Linked DNA regions of Homo sapiens: region 1 is linked to region 2. The links are contacts of gene promoters, found by promoter capture Hi-C in blood cells and fetal thymus (Javierre and others, 2016). All regions are on one chromosome and are shown on one strand. The core of a region is centred on a gene start or on the middle of the fragment in contact, and the rest is flanking DNA. Distances in the headings are between cores, read along the strand shown. Region 1 holds the start of OR5K4 (olfactory receptor family 5 subfamily K member 4). Region 2 has its middle 19 kb from the start of GABRR3.

Region 1 (5,374 bases), core at 746-3,245, 300 kb after region 2:
ATTTTAGCCACTTAATAATTCTCTTTGTCTCTAAAGTGAAGCCATTATAGAAAGCCATAAGGAGACATAGTAAGTGGATAAGTCTGACCTATTCTTTGTTCAAAAGTACCATAATTTTATCAGCAAATACACAGATAAGGCTGATGATGTCCTTGTACAGTAATTCTGCGATCTATAGGCAAATTAATTTTTGATTAAGTTCAAAAATTATATTTTACATTGGTGAAGAGAAAATGAGATTTTACTCATTATATTCTGAAATATGATCTATATAAAATAATTATTGATAATAAAATCCATTTTTCCACAGTCCACCTGATAAATATTTTCAGTTGATTTTCCATTAGATGTTACTAAAATAATGATAAAGAGCAGCATTTTATACTTTTACAAAGTTTTTTTAAAAATATAATTCTGAAAGATTTTTTAAAAGAGGTATAGACCTAAAATATAAAGGACATTTTATTGTATTCATTTGATTACAAGCCTCTAGTGATAAAACTCCAGAAAACCTCATCATATTATGTGAGTCAATAGAAAAACAAAAGTAAGAAACAGAGAAAACCTAACCAAAATGTTTTCAAAGTAATTCACTGGCCGGGCGAGGTGACTCATGCCTGTAATCCCAGCATTTTGGGAGGCCGAGGCGGGCGGATCGCCTGAGGTCAGGAGTTCGAGACCAGCCTGACCAACATGGTGAAACCCCGTCTCTACTAAAAATACAAAATTAGCCAGGCATGGTGGCTCATGCCTGTAATCCCAGCTACTCGGGAGGCTGAGGCAGGAGAAGTGCTTGAAACTCTGTCTCAAAAAAAAAAAAAATGTGCTTTGAATTAACTATCGTAGGCTCTTCTCCAAAATTGTCTGTTTGGAGTATGCTAAGGCTAAAGACTTTTAGAAACTTCTAAAAGAAAAGAAAGTTAATTTTATTATTCTTTAAAACTCAAATTGTTTCTGTACCTGAAATATTTTAATGTACAGTTGCCAAACTATAAGAACTATATAATAAATTTAGTTGATCATTAAACTCAAATAAATATATAGCCAGTAAAGAGTAGATAATGAGTTTGTAAATTTAAATAAATTTAAAACTCAAGTAAATAAATGGAGAACCTCCATAGAACTCACTGAAAATGAAGACATTACTTTCTATGAGAGATGTTTGAGTGAATACAAAATAGATATTTACCATGAAGAATATTCACATTATGAGTGGAGATTTTGCCACCAAATCTTACAATGTTGGACATGCATGTAAAACTCTTAAAACTAGAGACAGAAAGTATTAGGATAAGTGAGCAATTAAGAGTAATAACTCCTTGGGAAATTTGTCATACCAAGATTGGAATAGTATCTAGAATATGTTGAAATGAACATAAAAATGATATCCAATACAATGATTAAGAACACTCATAGATGTTTCATATTCTTATCCTCTCTAAAAGGATGAGTAGATATCTCATAAAATATGCAATTGGTGACCTTATCTGGAAAGGGTTACTAAGCTAGCAAAAGCATTCTTCAAATCACTGTGTTTCTGTGCAGTTTTTAAAATGTAGACATTTAAAATGCCTTAAGAGTAATTCATTTTAAGCGTCACATTGATCCAATAGGATACGATTTAAAACTTGTTTACTTTTTCCTGGAGGAAAAGATACCATAAGAAAATGTCTTAATTTTGGAAATGGAAAATTATATGTACTGACCACAGATTTTACATCGGCATAGGATAATTCATGCAGATAAAGCTTTCCTGCCCTAGGAATTCACACAGATATTTTCAGACAAGCCCTGGGTACACAATCCATGATACATTTTTTCTCACTTGATTTGACCCACAGTGAGTGTGCTAGTGTTTAGGAGATGGCACAGGATAATTTGAAGAAGACTTTCTTCCCTTTTGTATACAGGGAAATTAGAGGGTGAGAATTAGAAACATTCTGCTTTGGAATCTTACATTTCTTTACAATTTATGTCTCAGAAGAGAAGCCAGGAATGGCTAGGGAAAATCACTCCTTAGCAGCTGAATTCATCCTCATAGGATTTACAAATTATCCAGAGCTGAAGACGCTTCTGTTTGTGGTGTTCTCTGCCATCTATCTGGTCACCATGGTGGGGAATCTTGGTCTGGTGGCATTAATTTATGTAGAGCGTCGTCTTCTCACACCAATGTACATCTTTCTGGGCAACCTGGCTCTGATGGATTCCTGCTGTTCCTGTGCTGTTACCCCCAAGATGTTAGAGAATTTCTTTTCTGAGGATAGAATTATTTCCCTGTATGAATGTATGGCACAATTTTATTTTCTCTGTCTTGCTGAAACCACAGACTGCTTTCTTCTGGCGACAATGGCCTATGACCGCTATGTGGCCATATGCCACCCACTGCAGTACCACACCATGATGTCCAAGACGCTCTGCATTCGGATGACCACAGGGGCCTTCAAAGCTGGAAACCTGCATTCCATGATTCATGTAGGGCTTTTATTAAGGTTAACTTTCTGCAGGTCTAATAAAATTCACCACTTTTTCTGTGATATTCTTCCACTGTATAGACTCTCCTGTACAGATCCTTCTATTAATGAACTAATGATATATATCTTTTCAATACCAATTCAAATCTTTACCATTGCTACTGTCTTGATCTCTTATCTCTGCATCCTTTTGACTGTTTTCAAAATGAAATCCAAGGAGGGAAGAGGTAAAGCATTTTCTACCTGTGCATCCCACTTTCTCTCTGTCTCAATATTTTACATTTGTCTTCTCATGTATATTGGACCATCTGAAGAAGGAGATAAAGATACACCAGTGGCAATATTTTATGCAATAGTAATCCCATTACTAAACCCTTTTATTTATAGTCTGAGAAATAAGGAGGTCATAAATGTTCTTAAAAAAATTATGAGGAATTATAACATTCTTAAACAAACTTGCTCTATAGCAAATTTATTTTTAATTTATTAAAATGCTTTCATAAAGAGGGAACATAGAAAAATTAATATGTGATTTTACACAAAATGTAAGCTTATAAATCATTAGGCTATGTTTGTTTAAAAAATATATCAATGGAATTTCAAAATTGTTTCACAAATCTTTATCCAAATCCCACAACCAGAATGAATCGGGGAAACTCACTGGTAACTGTTATTACTACCTTTCATGACTCTCATGGAATTGTCAGAGAGTATTATCCTAAACCTCAATTAATCAACATAGCATGAAAGTTAAATGTTTAAATGTGTAGAAGAGTCTTCTTTGATTAATGTTTCCTAGTTAATGGAAGACATTATATCCAATCCTATGTAGCGTGTTTGAAACATTTAAAATTTCCTGGCAGAAAAGTGAAATGATAGTTTTCTTTCAGAAAACTGACCTGAGAGACACATGTGGATTACTTTAGAGTGGAAAAGACTAGAAGCAAACTAATTGCAGTAATTTATATTTAAGGTAATGAAGTTTTATTTAGATAAGATTGCAAGAATGAAAAAAAATGAAAAGGAACACACACACACATACACAGACATATACAGACACAGACACACACATACACACATGCAAAGAGGCTCACCTACAAAATATTCTATTTTGCAGAATAATTAATTGTGACTTATAACAAATTGGACAGAGTAGATTAAGGTCTACTTTAGCCAGAAGCATAATTAAGTTCCTTTTCATTCTTGAAGGCATCAACCATGTTATTGGCTATGTATTATATATAACTACAGTTTACATATTAACACTCATTAAACATTTTAAAACATATTAATAATGACATTGTTTTATTTTTGAGTAATGGTAAGCTGTACCAATATTTTATGTGTTTATTGACCATTTTTACTTTTATGAATTGTCATTTTTGTTTTGTCTGTTTTATTTCTTATTTATATCATTGTTTACAGAGAAAAGACATCACAACTATTTGTGGCAAATAATTCTTCTGTGGGTTGATAGTCTTAGTATTTGTTTCTGATATTTATAAATATTTTAATTTAATATACTCATATTTACTTATTTTTTCTATGATCTCTTTCATGCATTTCATCCAGAATTTCTTTTTTAATCCAGTCTACTATTAACCAATATTTCTTTTTCTCCTTTTCTTATTTCTCTTCTTCTCCTTCTCCCTATTTTCCTCCTCCTTCCTTTTTTGATATTTTAAATTTTTGCAACTTGACTCTTGATTCTTCCTGGAATTTATTTAGTATATGGCATATTAAAGATATAACTTTATTTGGCTGTTTCTCTAAAAAATATTTATAAACTAATTTAATTCAAATAAACACTCAGGAGAACTTCTTTGGGAACCTGGCAAAATGAATTTAAAATTTTTTCATATTCTAGATTTTTCTAGAAAATAAAAAAAATACCTTATGTGTTATATATTAAAATATATGATAAAATTCCAATAATGATAACAGTTTGGTTTTAAATCAAGAATCAATAAACAAACCAACAGAACAAATCAGATTGTTCAAAAGTAAACTCTCATATAAAATAAGAAGGGCATCACAAATAACAAGGAAATAAAGGATTGTTCAGTAGCCGTGGGACAACTGGGTAACTATCTCTTCCATTCATGTTAAAATGTATATCTTCCTGTCATTTAGATATATATTTGTAGACAAAATTTGTATTTCCTTCATTTTTCATAGTTTGATTTTTAATATACAGCAACCAACTGGAATTTATTTTATAATGTTATAAAGTGAGAATTAAAATTTGATTTATGGCTAACCAGTAGTCCCAGAAGCATTTATTGACAAACTCTTCTCTAACTGATTTCTTATGTCTCCTTTTTGTACATTTATGCTCATACATTCACATGTACATGCATACACAGAGAGGTCTATTTCTAGCCCGTTTGTACAACAAAAACAAGACGGTTCTAGTTCGTACACTTCTGTCTCAGGAGGGAAGATGGACATTTTAAAAGGCAATCAAACTAAAAAGCTATAAGTTATAATTGAGGAAGACTCTTATGCTTCTACCTAAAGTCTATTGTTAGGGTTCTATAACATTTATATATAAAATATCTATTCACTCTATTCTTTCTTTCTATGTGACCTCATCTATTTTTTTTTTTTTGGCCTTTAATTTCATCAATATGAAGATGGCTCAGAATGTATATTTCCACCTCTGATATCCTCCCTGCTCTCCAGTCTCACATGTGCAACTGCCTACTTCACATAATTACTTAAATGTTGCAAAGACATCTCAAATTCAACATGATCAAAGCACAAGTCTTGAATTTCCCACTAAACATGGTCCTCCCCTGGTCTTCTCCATTATGATGGTCACATCCTCCAACCAGCTGGGCAAGGCAGAAATTAAGAGAACCCCACACAACTCTGTCTCCTATCACAACCAAACTTTCATG
Region 2 (5,837 bases), core at 2,039-4,538:
AAAGTAGGCCGGGCGCGGTGGCTCATGCCTGTAATCCCAGCACTTTTGGAGGTCTAGTGGGGTGGATCACGAGGTCAAGAGATCGAGACCATCCTGGCCAACATGGTGAAACCCTGTCTCCACTAAAAATACAAAAAATTAGCCGGGCGTGGTAGTGGGCGCCTGTAGTCCCAGGTACTCGGGAAGCTGAGGCGGCGTCAACCCAGGAGGCGGAGCTTGCAGAGAGCCGAGATCGCACCACTGCACTCCAGCCTGGGCGACAGAGCAAGACTCCGTCTCAAAAAAAAAAAAAAAAATTAAAAGTAGATCTACCATTTGATCCAGCAATCCCACTGCTAGGTATCTACCCAGAGGAAAAGAAGCCATTATATGAAAAAGATACTTGCACACACATGTTTATAGTAGCACAATTTGCAGGTGCAAAAATGTGGAACCAGCCCAAATGCCCATCAATCAACAAGTGGATAAAGAAAATGTGAGATAGATAGATAGATATAACGGAATACTACTCAGCCATAAGAAAGAATGAAAGAATGGCATTTGCAGCAACCTGGATGGAATTGCAGACTAATATTCTAGGTGAAGTAACTCAGGAATGGAAAACCAAACATTGTATGGTCTCACTTATATGAGGGAGCTAAGCTATGAGGACACAAAGGCATAAGAACGATACATTGGACTTTGGGGACTCGGTGGAAAGTGTTGGTGGTGGCGAGGGATAAAAGACTACACCTCGGGTACAGGTTACAGGCTACACTGCTTGTGTGATGGGTGCACCAAAATCTCAGAAATCACCACTAAAGAACTTATTCATATAACCAAACACCAACTGTTCCCCAAAACCTTTGGAAATAAAAAAAATTAAAAATTAAAAATCCCAATCGTTCTATGTATTTTTACTGTTGTTTTTCACTAACTCTAAAACTTTTCCTTAAATTTTCCATTATTGTGCCTTAATTTTGAGTTAACAAAGCAGAAGCTTTGAGAAAACGAGTTTCAGGCCTGCACAGACTTGGGAAGTGAAGACTTTAGCTACAGTTATACAGAATTGGTGACTAGTTAATAGAAATAAAAATATGTCACGTTGTAACACCTACTGGCTGGCCTTGTCATTAAACCTTAAGAGTTGTAAATCTAATACTTATAAATGTTCCCTTGAATGGTTGTATACTTAGGCCTACTGTTTTATAAGTAGGTAGTTCCTGCTTTAGATCAACAAGGCAGGGATTTGAATATGTAAAACATATTTTATGTCCGGAATTATGCAAAGTTTGTCATTAAAGACATGTATTGATGATACAGACATATTTTTTCACCCTGTGTTTCCACAGGATCTCGTTTAGTTTCCTTTCCATTTACTTTCCAGGCTTGTAAAACTCATGGATACACTTTTAGCTTGAGGCTTTTTCTGCATTGCCTTACCTATGTTTATGTTAGTCATTGCCTATTAATTTGGTTAATCCTTTCTCCCCATTTAATTTGTTATTTAAATAAAATTTATAATTTACTATTTAACTTATCACTTAAATTGAATCCAGATATTCAAAACACTGGCCATTCTTTCTACTATGATGTTTTTGTAATGTTTTATTCCACCTTGACTGTGATAGTCCCGTTTGTAATACCAAGAGGATCAGATCATTTTTTGTTCTAGAAAGATAAAAAAGTTCCTGAAAGAATGAGAAAATACACTTTTGAACCCAAAACAAAGTCTCATTTTCTAAGATTTTGGCATAAAATATACCGTGTACCTTTTGCTCTTAAAACACTTCGTTGTTAATACATTCAATTTTAAGGTACTTATGAGTGGCAGGCTATGGGACTAGTTAGTTCTTGTCTAGAATCTCCTCTATAACCCTCAAGAAATAATATGTATTTTAAAAAAATCTTACCATTTTTTCAGTGTACAATATACAATTTCTTACATTGATCCATTTATTAACTCATTAGTGATTTTGTGGTTTTCACTGCTTTTATACAAGCTTTTGCTTTTATGATCATCATAGTTTCTTATACCCAAGTCCTCTTTGCCTTACTGAAAAAGAATTCTGAGAAGGGCAGAAGCAAAAGCTTCCTCATGTGCAGTGCCCACCTGCTCTCTGTCTCTTTGTTCTATAGCAGTGTCTTCTTCATGTATGGGTGCCCCAGGTCTGGCCCAGATTAACAGTGGAATGAAATGTATTTTCCGTTCTACATGATTATAATTCCTCTGCAGACTCCTTTATTTACAGTATGAAAAACAAAGAAGTTTTAGGTACACTTAGAACAATGATAAAGAAATATTTTTGGAGAACACTTTCATAATTCTTTCCATTTCCTTTCTGTTAAAACAAATCGTAATAATTGTTTCTGTGTTTTACACATAGTAGGGACACAATATGTTAAGTGAATGAATAAAAAAATTTAGACTAAATATTCTTGTCTTAGTTATAAGTTATTCTGATCATTAAAATAGTTAATGAGCATTTAAGGACAAACACCACATTTTTGTTGTTGTTTTAAGTACATACTCAAGGATGAAGTTCAAACTGAAATTATAATGCCACATTACTGTTTTTGTAACATGAATGAAACACAAGAGTTCATTCATTTTACAAAGACTTAGTAACAAGTTTTTGTAACATGAATGAACTACATGAAATACAGACATACATGTTTTAGAACTTACTTGCAGTTATTTAAAGGAAGACCCCACCTATATAATTTAAAAAGTGTTCAAAGTATTCATGCACTTCTAAATAATTCTTGAACAAGGCATTTTTCAAACTTTCTCTTTAGCAGATATTTATAATAATATATCAGAATGTTAATAAAAATAATACTGTTAGGCCAAATATGACAACACATATCCTCTTAAAACATTTAAAACTAAGATTTCCATTTGGTTTAAAAGCAATTTTGAAAAGTAACATGTTTCATTGCCTCCATTGAAAGATATGTAAATGTAACAACAAAAATACTAAAAGTAATTCAAATTTCTGCAATATAGTTAGAAAATTTCTGAGTTCTTCTAAAACTTTTACTTTTTAATTTATTGAGTAGTCCTACTGAGCACTGCATTCCTGACACACATATCCTACCTGAATAGTGTTTTCTGGCATTGACACCTGCCTGAACCAGCAGGTGTGCTTGATCAACTGTCAGTTAAATATATTAAGCTAATTTTTTTTCTTACCTACATTGTGTATATATTCTATCTGGCCCTTTCATGAGTAGGCAAACTTTGACCTCCTTACTTTTATTACTTAGACTCTTGAGAATACTCAAGAGAGTATTCTCTTGAGAAAATACTCAAGAAAGATTTTTCCATATGCATAATACATTGCTTTTACCCTGGCTTTAAAAAAAAGTGAAGAAATGGCAGTTTGTTGAATGATATAACCCAAAGCCCCAAATGAGGCACAGTGGCTTTAGGAATAGTTTGTTAGGGTTCAGTTTTTTCAGAACCCGGTTCCTCTCATTGCATCTGAGCTGTGCCTTCTGCTGTGGGGACTCCATTTTAAGCAGGTGTACCCTGTGGCTGCAGAATCTCTGCAGGAGTTCCTGTCTCCATCTCTCTATAGTCAACCCCAGCGACAAAGTGTTCTAATTTTATATGTAATATGCCATACAGGCTGATTAGTCTTGCCTACATAGTGGCCGTATGTCAATGTATAACCTTTCTCTCTCATCATTACACCTATATTATTTCAAGAAAAATCCCCACTGATTTGGGTTGAGACCTAGAGACCAGAGTACTACATTCTACATGCTTTCCTCAGCTAGATTCACATAGAGCAGGACTGACATCCTCACACTCCCCGAGAGGAAAACAGCCACAGGCAGCTATATAGTCAAAGGGGACAATAGTTTTGCAAATATTAAACAATGGAAATTAATTTCTTATTTTAACATTTTTTTTCATAGTTTCTGAGGTGGGAAAAATCTAGTACTTGACCTTTTAACAAGATAGCCTGAAGAGCAGACTTTTAAATTACTTATGTCTGAGTCCTGAATCATGTCCCTTAAAGAGGCAGTTCATTGGCTGAGCAGAAATCCCAAATCACAGAGCTGTACTAATTGGTTAGTTAATTAGGGCACTCCCAGGTGAGAAATGTTGAAGACTGGCAGACACTAACTTCCATTGTTCATCCAAGTCCGTTGGCACAATCTGTGGTTTGACTTTTAGAGGTGTTAGTGCAATTCTCTCACAATCTCCTAGCTCCACTTTAGAATGCCTGCACCTTAGTTACCTCAGTTTCTTTCATACAACCTTAATTACCTCTGAAGCATGAATTCCCCTTTGCCAGGTAACCTAACATATTCACAGGTTCTGGGAATTAAGATGTGTACATATGTGGCAGGAGCATTATTGCGTACATCAAAGGTAGACTTGGAAAAGAGTGTGTTTTGTCCAGATTCCAATTTATGGCACTAGAAATCATTTCTGGCTCTGCTCCTTCCTTACCTGGCTACCTCAAAGTAAACTTGGTTTGCAAAGTACGTAGGCAGCAGACCCTTGAAGGTTAAGCTTTAGAGGCTGGTCCCCATCACCATCTTGCATGGCCAGGACCTGCAAATTCCTGCAGCGACAGAAAGAAGCCAAGAGACTCACTCATGCAACAGGTGGGTTGGGACATGTAGGTGGAGGACATAAGAGAGACCCTGAGGGGTGACCACATCAATGAGACCCAAGAGAGTCAGAACAGCCTTGGAGGGCAGCTGGGACCCTACCCATACTAGTTGACCAGATCAATAGTTCCAATAGGCACTGACTTTGGCTGTAAAAGCTGGCACCATGCCAAGCCCAGAAGAGTCAGACAGTATTAGTAGGACAGAGACCTTCACTTTACTCCCAAAAGATCACAGGCCTTTCCCTGCTCCATATTCTCATATTCATCTCAGAGGTTTACATGAAAAAATTAAAATTAGTCAAGTTAATTTTCTGTCATTTAGAGCATGACAGCTCTTGCTATATCTATTCCATGAACTGCTTAACAAAATCATTGATTAGAATCACAGACTCCGGTCATCTCCAGGCTGAGGTCATGACCCATGAGAGAATGGATCGGAAGTAATAGGATACGGGACAATCGACTAACCCCTCTTCTTAAACTCTGGACTTTTGGAGAGTTGTTTTCACTGAGAAAAGCCCAAGTCCAATAGTGATAACTCAGTTCATAAGTGATGGCCTGGGACATGCTGTAGAGACTAGGTGTGGGAGGACATATTCAGAGTCCCTAGCTGAGTCAGAAATAGAACCTGCAGCTTGTCTCACAGGAGCCAAGGCCAACATGAGAGATCCTGGCAGATTGGGAAGGGACATCACATGAATCGTGCAAGAATCAGCTCATCCACCTATTTCCACACAAGCTAGGCAACTGAGGCAGAGATGGAACTACAACTTGAAAGTGAACATGAGCATATGAGAGAGGAGAAAGAGAAGAAAAGATTGAGGAGACAGCCTACACTTTCTGACACCATTACAAAGATAACTGCTCAGCCTCCAGTGGGTCCACCCTATGCTCATACCTACACAAGGGAGGCCCTGCTGACCATGTAGCTGGAATTCCTGGGACAGGGATGCATTATACTGTGGATGGAGGGAGCTTCCTAGTAGGAGAAAAGACTTTCATCCAGTAACCAATTTTACTTAGCCAAACTACAACAGAACATAGTAGAAAATTCAACTCAGGTCTTTCTAGAAGCAAGGTAAGCAAACTTAGCAAACTTGAGTCCATTCAAAAGACTCTTACCCTAAAAAAGAGTAAGAGTCTTTTGAATGGACTCATGTTTACTAAGGAGAGAAAGTAATGGGGAGGAAGAGAATGAAAAGTATTAATTTTCTTTTATCAGTT

Evidence for each region. The method cuts DNA at HindIII sites, captures the fragments that hold promoters and counts their contacts. A CHiCAGO score of 5 or more calls a contact.
Region 1: a contact is called between the fragment with the promoter of OR5K4 here and a fragment that was not itself captured in region 2, in 4 of 17 cell types (endothelial precursors, naive CD8 T cells, naive CD4 T cells and 1 more). The highest score is 7.4, in endothelial precursors.

What each region holds. Positions count from the first base shown.
Region 1 is chr3:98,351,859-98,357,232 of GRCh38, forward strand. It overlaps OR5K4 (olfactory receptor family 5 subfamily K member 4), which reads left to right and starts at 1,996. Exons shown (of 1, transcript NM_001005517.1): 1 at 1,996-2,961. The coding sequence starts at 1,996. The coding sequence ends at 2,961. The HindIII fragment of the contact is 1,273 bases long and covers 1,747-3,019 here.
Region 2 is chr3:98,051,461-98,057,297 of GRCh38, forward strand. It overlaps the pseudogene OR5BM1P. Among named protein-coding and RNA genes, the nearest start is that of GABRR3, 19 kb to the left of the region's middle. The HindIII fragment of the contact is 2,440 bases long and covers 2,069-4,508 here.